2 separate regions of the Homo sapiens genome follow, and region 1 is linked to region 2. The links are contacts of gene promoters, found by promoter capture Hi-C in human tissues and cell types (Jung and others, 2019). All regions are on one chromosome and are shown on one strand. Each heading gives the region's core, a stretch centred on a gene start or on the middle of the fragment in contact. The rest is flanking DNA. Distances are from core to core; before and after follow the strand shown. Region 1 overlaps LTBP1 (latent transforming growth factor beta binding protein 1). Region 2 holds the start of TTC27 (tetratricopeptide repeat domain 27).

Region 1 (3,593 bases), core at 111-2,610, 660 kb before region 2:
CATGCTGCCTGCTTTCAAAAGTTGTTGTTGTTGTTGTTGTTGTTGTTTTTATTTTATTTTTATTATACTTTTAAGTTTTAGGGTACATGTGCACAACGTGCAGGTTTGTTACATATGTATACATGTGCCATGTTGGTGTGCTGCACCCATTAACTCTTCATTTAACATTAGGTATATCTCCTAATGCTATCTCTTCCCCCTCCCCTCACCCCACAACAGGTCCTGGTGTGTGATGTTCCCCTTCCTGTGTCCATGTGTTCTCATTGTTCAATTCCCACCTATGAGTGAGAACATGCGGTGTTTGGTTTTTTGTCCTTGCGATAGTTTGCTGAGAATGATGGTTTCCAGCTTCATCCCTGTCCCTACAAAGGACATGAACTCATCATTTTTTTATGGCTGCATAGTATTCCATGGTGTATACGTGCCACGTTTTCTTAATCCAGTCTATCATTGTTGGACATTTGGGTGGGTGTTTTTATAACTGCCAATCTTCTCTGGCATATAGATACACAGACAACAGCTCAATAAATAGCTTAGTGATTGATTAGAAGCATCCTTTAGCATATAATAATGTAGGGATAAAGCTAATGTTTGCACATAAAATATGAAAAAGGTACATGCTGTACTCAGTTGCAATCTTCTATAAAACAAATATCTGCTGTACCAAGTCTTCAATTTTGGATTAGTCTATGAATATTCATATAAGCCATGAAAGTTAACACTGAATCTTCAAATCTGAAAATAAAGCCTAGTGTGAAAAGAACTTCTAGAACAATGAGTTCTCCATGTTTTCTGTCCAAGTTTATTCTTCAAGTTCTCTGTGCCAGGTCTTGGTTAAGACTGTAGCTAATCAGTTGTCAAGTAGACTGAATGATACTAAATTCTTCAAATACCCAAGACCTACATTCACAGAGTTTAAATGGGAGTCAGAAAGTCATTCTCAACTTAATCAGGGGTTAAAAAAGAAAGATTACACTGACAAAATCTCAGAATTTTGTGTTACCGGGTCTCAAGTTCTATCACAAACTGAACTACAAAGCAAGACAACCCCCAAAAGGCTAGCTGCATATATCCAATAGGTGGCATATTCTGCCTTGTGAAGGTGAGCAGAGACAATAAAGTACAGGAATGGAAATAGCAGCATTATTATAGATGCCTGAACATTTGTTAGGAATCACTAATGACCCTACAGAGAAGTATCATGGCTCCCAAGAAGTATATTCCAGCTAAGTAAGAACACTAAGAAGTTGGAAGGAGTCAACAGACATATCACCCTGAACGTGCCCGATCTAGTCTGACCTTGGAAGCTAAGCAGGGTGGGCCCAGTTAGTATTTGGATGGGAGATATTGAACAGGAACCACAAAATTATTTACATTCATAAAAGAATGCTCCAAAAGGCCAGGTGCGGTGGCTCACGCCTGTAATCCCAGCACTTTGGGAGTCTGAGGAAGGTGGATCACAAGGTCAGGAGTTCTAGAACAGCCTGACCAACATGGTGAAACCCCACCTCTACTAAAAATACAAAAATTAGCCGGGCATAATGGCATGCAGCTGTAATCCCAGCAACTCAGGAGACTGAGGCAGGAGAACTGCTTGAACCCGGGAGGTGGAGGTTGCAGTGAGCCGAGATCGCGCCATTGCACTCCAGCCTGGGCAACAGAGGGAGACTCCGTCTCAAAAAAAAAAAAAAAGAAAAAGAAAGAAAGAAAAGAGAATGCTCCAATGACATAAGAAGAATTAAAAAACTATATGACATGAGCTTCAAAAAGCCAAAGAGAATATAGTTATATAGAAGAATGTGACCCGGGCACGGTGGCTTACCCCTGTAATCCCAGCACTTTCGGGGACTGAGATGGGTGGATCACCTGAGGTCAGGAGTTCGAGGCTAGCCTGGCCAACATGGTGAAACCCCATCTCTACTAAAAATACAAAAATTAGCCAAGCGTGGTGGCGGGCACCTGTAATCCCAGCTACTCGGGAGGCTGACGCAGGAGAATCACTTGAACCCTGGAGGCGGAGGTTGCAGTGAGCCGAGATCACGCCATTGCACTCCAGCCTGGGCGACAAGAGTGAGACTCCATCTCAGAAAAAAAAAAAAAAAAAAAAAGAATGTGATACATAACTTACTTTACCAAGTACCAGTTATTACTGCATCTCTTATGTTTGAGGACAAGAGCAGTATAGAGGAGGGTAATAGTTGGGGAAAAAGGGTTGTAGCATGGATGGGGTTCCACCATATGTCAGATGCCTACTAGGTGCTTCATATTGCTTACTTCATTCTGGCAAGAAAGCTTAAACAGCAAGTATTTCAATCCCCATTTTACAGATAATAAAACTAAGCTTCAGAGAGGTCATGTAGCCCAAACTCTGTCTAAATTCAGGGAACTAAGATCTCTACATTAGCAATATCAAATGTATCTTTAAATAATTAAATATTAGAGAGTTTCCTTGGGGGATGGCTCTCATCGGGTTTCAATCAGGCCAGATCTCCACAAGCCAAGAAGAACCTGTAAATTGAGTACCTGACAGGGTGGCTTCCCTTAAGAAAGGACTTGGTTGAAATAGCCATTTGGAACTGGCCAGAACCCAGAGTGATGAAATAGTCATTAAAGGTGGGGATCGAGTGGGCAGCAACTCCAGGCTGAATGTCAGGTCCAAGGAATACAGTGCCGAATGACGAACGTGACTCTCTAGAGAAGAATGAAATCCACGACTTGAAAGAAGAAGCTACGTTAACAGAAGAGCCAACAAGAGTTGCCAAAAAGCATTAGGGATGATGTGTGTTAGGTACAGTCTGAAATGATAGATATTTGAAGTGGATAATAAACTATTGAGGATGAGGGATTGTATGACCTGAGCTAAACACTAGGGAAAAAATGTAGTCCCTCAGAAAACACCTGCTAACATTTTGCCTATTTCTGCCCAAAACAATTTCTGCTCTAATTTATAAATCAAGGAGAAGCATCAATCAGTAAGATCCAGCTTACATGTCATGAATACAAAGAGGCCATTAACGGTTTCACCAAGTTCATCATTTAGTCTGTGAAAGAAGCAGAAAGTGTAACTGGTATAAAATCCCTGCAGAATATAGGGGTTGAATAGCAATGCTTAATGAAGTCATTCAATAGAAAGAGAGTCAAATCAACGTGAAGATAGACCAGTTTAGAAAAAAAACTATAAGCATAATGTGAAATTTAAGAAATGTTATATAAAACATTGTACATGTTTGATTATAACAATGTAAAAACATGTACTCAGTGAGAGGAGAGTTAGAAAAAAAGACACTAACATTTATGGAACACGGCAGCCCTGTGAGATAGACATTATCATCTCTACAGATGGCAACTAACAAATGACAAATGTAGGATTTTTCACCAAAATGGTGTGATTGCAGGAAACTTTTTAATGACCGGGCACGGTGGCTCACGCCTGTAATCCCAGCACTTTGGGAGGCCGAGGCGGGTGGATCACGAGGTCAGGAGATCCAGACCATCCTGGCTAACATGGTGAAACCCCGTCTCTACTAAAAATACAAAAAATTAGCCAGGCGTGGTGGCGGGCGCCTGTAGTCCCAGTTACTCAGGAGGCTGAG
Region 2 (3,559 bases), core at 594-3,093:
ATACACACAGAGTACTTACACACTACACTGTTCATTATTACTCTTTTGGGTCCAGCCTAAATCCCACAACCAGATGTGCCAGTGCATGTGCCTTTTAACTCTTTATCTCTCTGGTAAATATTCATTGCTCACAAGAATTAATCTTTGCCTCCTAGGCTGGGCGCGGTGGCTCATGCCTGTAATCCCAGCACTTTGGGAGGCCGAGGTGGGTGGATCACGACGTCAGGAGATCGAGACCATCCTGGCTAACACGGTGAAACCCCGTCTCTACTAAAAATACAAAAAAAAAAATTAGCTGGTCGTGGTGGCAGGCGCCTTTAGTCCCAGCTACTCGGGAGGCTGAGGCAGGAGAATGGCGTGAACCCGGGAGGTGGAGCTTGCAGTGAGCCGAGATCGCGCCACTGCACTCCAGCCTAGGCGACAGAGCGAGACTCTGTCTCAAAAAAATAAAAAAAATAAATCATTGCCGCCTAGGCCGTGCATGGTGGCTCATGGCTGTAATCCCAGCACTTTGGGAGGCCGAGGCGGGTGGATCACCTGAGGTCAGGAGTTCCAGACCAGCCTGACCAACATGATGAAAGCCGTCTCTACTAAAAACACAAAATTAGCCGGGCATGGTGGTGCATGCCTGTAGTCCCAGCTACTTTGGAGGCTGAAGCAGGAGAATCGCTTGAACCGGGGAAGCGGAGGTTGCAGTGAGCCGAGATGGCACCAGTGCACTCCAGCCAGAGCAACAAGAGGGAGACTCCATCCCCCCAAAAAAACAACTTTGCTGCCTCATTTTAGCTCCTCTGCTTACCAACAGTGTGACCTTAAATAAATTACTTAACCAGACCCGGGCGCGGTGGCTCAGGCCTGTAATCCCAGCACTTTGGGAGGCTGAGGCAGGCGAATCATCTGAGGTCAGGAGTTCCAGACCAGCTAGGCCAACATGGTGAAACCTCGACTCTACTAAAAATACAAAATTAGCCGGGCGTGGTGGCGCATGCCTGTAATCCCAGCTACCCTGGAGGCTGAGGCAGGAGAATCACTTGAACCCGGGAGGCGGAGGTTGCAGCGAGCCGAGATCGCGCCATTGCACTCCAGCCTGGGCAAAAAGCAAAACTCCGTCTCAATAAATAAATAAATAAATAAATAAATAAATAAATAAATAGATAAAATAAAATTACTTAACCCAACTGTATTTACAGATCTTCACCGCAAAATGGGATTAAAAATTGAATCTACCTTAAGTATCTACTATAAGCATTAAATGACTGAGTACATGTTAAGGGCTTAGAAAAATAACTGACATTGCCATTGTCATTATTACTGAACCTGGGCGGTAAGAAGTTTTGCGCAAAGAAAGTGAGGACCACGCCCACCATGTCAAAGACTAAACGACCCAAAGCCTCAAGGAATCAGCTAGACTGTGTTAGGGAAAAATGAAGGGAGGGATGAGAATCAGTCGCTGCCATCCCTTTTCCTCACAGTTCCCACGATAGCCTAAGGCCCGGTAGGTGCGCCTCTCACCTGAACCGACGACCCCCTCCTGTTTCCATTGCTGCCGCTCAGCCTCAGTGGGGAATCCCCTCAGAATTGCCAGCTCCGGGGTCCACATCACCCCAGACACCGCTGCAGCCAAAACAGGCTCCCACGAGGGCCACACGGGAGTCAACAAAAGAAAGTGAAAACAGGAGAGTCCAAAGGCGCTGAAATCTAGTGGCGACAGTTACCGTAAATACACCTGCGGCCCTAGAATTCCATGTGCGGATACTACCTCAAGGAGGCGGCCATAACAGCAGCGCGGGGCACCCTGGGAAAAACACGCACGCTCTCTGGTCTGGCTTCCGCCTAGGAGAAGAACCCGAGCTTGAGTAAGGAGCCTGTTGGGTGGTTATGCCCCACCCCGGGGCGGGCAATAGGGGGAGTTGAGGGCGCGGTCGCGCTCAGCCCCGCCCCCAGTGGGACCGCTTCCAAGAACTGTGAACGTGGAAGTGAGTGTGCCTCCCACCGAGGGCTAGGGTTCAAATGCAACTCAAAACGGACGTCTTGGCCAAAGCAGTTTGATTAGAAGGGCTAGAGTTGTGATTCTTAAAGCATTTTGGGTTAGAACGCTCTCGACAACCCGATGAAAACCACAGTCCTTCGCGCAGAGTGCAGGTGGGCCCTTGCTCTCAGCCTAAGGGTACCCTCTCAGGGAATCACAGACCCTCTGACGTGGAGTCGGTGAAGCCCAGGTTGGAACCCCGTCAGCATAGCATGGGTCTTTCGGCGAATGAGCGTGTAAGGAAAGGATCTGGTTTTGACACTGCTCTACATGAATCATGGCCGGGTGGGAAATCTGCCCCTGCCGCTGGTGCAGGGAAGTTTTTGGAACACTGTCGGAACGCTGTAGAAGAGTGATCCCAGGGGTGATCACAAAGAAATTGCAAGGAGACAAACCAGCCTCCGCTGGTACCTTATTTGCACTTCTTTGAATCTTCCTAGCAGCACTCCAAAGAAACAGTTAGAGGGCGGGCGCGGTAGCTCACGCCTGTAATCTCAGCACTTTGGGAGGATGAAGCGGATGGATCACCTGAGGTCAGGAGTTCGAGACCAGCCTGGCCAATATGGTGAAACCCGTCTCTACTAAAAATACAAAAATTAGCCGGACGTAGTGGGGCACCCCTGTAAACCCAGCTACTCGGGACGGTGAGGCGGGGGAATTGCTTGAACCCGGGAGGCGGAGGTTTCAGTGAGCTGAGATGGTGCCACTGCACTCCAGCCTGGGCAATAGGAAAGAGGGAGGGAGGGAGGGAAGAAGGAAGGAAGGGAGGGAGGGAGGGAAGGAGGGAAGGAAAACAGGACTATGGCTTTGTCCCATTGGCTTGACACCTGTACTGAGATATGTCATGTAAGAGCCAGGAGAAAACTGCAGGGTAACTCTGACCACAAGAGCAAAAGCTCTCTGAAAAGAGGCTGACCCGGTACCCAGCTCCAAGGAAGAAGCTAAATAAATGTTAATTCACTTTCTTACTCAGTAAAGAGCCACTCCAGAATGTGAAGGGAGAGGAACTCAGCTCAGCTCATTTCAGCCATTGCCATCAGATACCAAAGGAAGCCGGACCTGACTGTGATTGGAGAAGAGCGGATGCCCTAAAATGTCCTCCCACTGAGAAGTAATTAAAAACTGTTTTTCAGGCCGGGCGCAGTGGCTCACGCCTGTAATCTCAGCACTTTGGGAGGCCGAGGCGGGCGGATCATGAGGTCAGGAGATGGAGACCATCCTGCCTAACAAGGTGAAACCCCATCTCTACTAAAAATATTTTTTTAAAAAATTAGCCGGGCGTAGTGGCGGGCGCCTGTAGTCCCAGCTGCTCAGGAGGCTGCCGCAGGAGAATGGCCTGAACCCAGGAGGCGGAGGTCGCAGTGAGCCAAGATCGCGCCACTGCACTCCAGCCTGGGCAGCAGAGCGAGACTCCGTCTCAAAAAAATAAACAAACAAAAAAAACCCCACTATTTTTCTAGAAAATGATACTTGACCAGGTTGTCTGTTCATTTCCTTAAGTATAAAAGCCAGCACTGTCTAAACTAATTT

The links. The method cuts DNA at HindIII sites, captures the fragments that hold promoters and counts their contacts. A contact is called where the count stands out against the background at its distance.
Region 1: a contact is called between a fragment that was not itself captured here and the fragment with the promoter of TTC27 in region 2, in 1 of the 25 tissues and cell types used here (bladder).

Annotation. Positions count from the first base shown.
Region 1 is chr2:33,283,551-33,287,143 of GRCh38, reverse strand. The region is part of intron 19 of LTBP1 (latent transforming growth factor beta binding protein 1); the gene reads right to left. It also overlaps the pseudogene RNA5SP91. Among named protein-coding and RNA genes, the nearest start is that of MIR4430, 130 kb to the left of the region's middle. The HindIII fragment of the contact is 5,171 bases long and covers 1-3,593 here.
Region 2 is chr2:32,626,334-32,629,892 of GRCh38, reverse strand. TTC27 (tetratricopeptide repeat domain 27) reads right to left here and starts at 1,843. Exons shown (of 20, transcript NM_017735.5): 1 at 1,513-1,843. The coding sequence starts at 1,600. It overlaps LOC124905985 (a long non-coding RNA gene), which reads left to right and starts at 3,115. Exons shown (of 3, transcript XR_007086273.1): 1 at 3,115-3,260. RefSeq lists a silencer at 1,354-1,483 and enhancers at 1,734-1,793, 1,322-1,981, 2,204-2,263, 1,982-2,643. The HindIII fragment of the contact is 9,918 bases long and covers 1-3,559 here.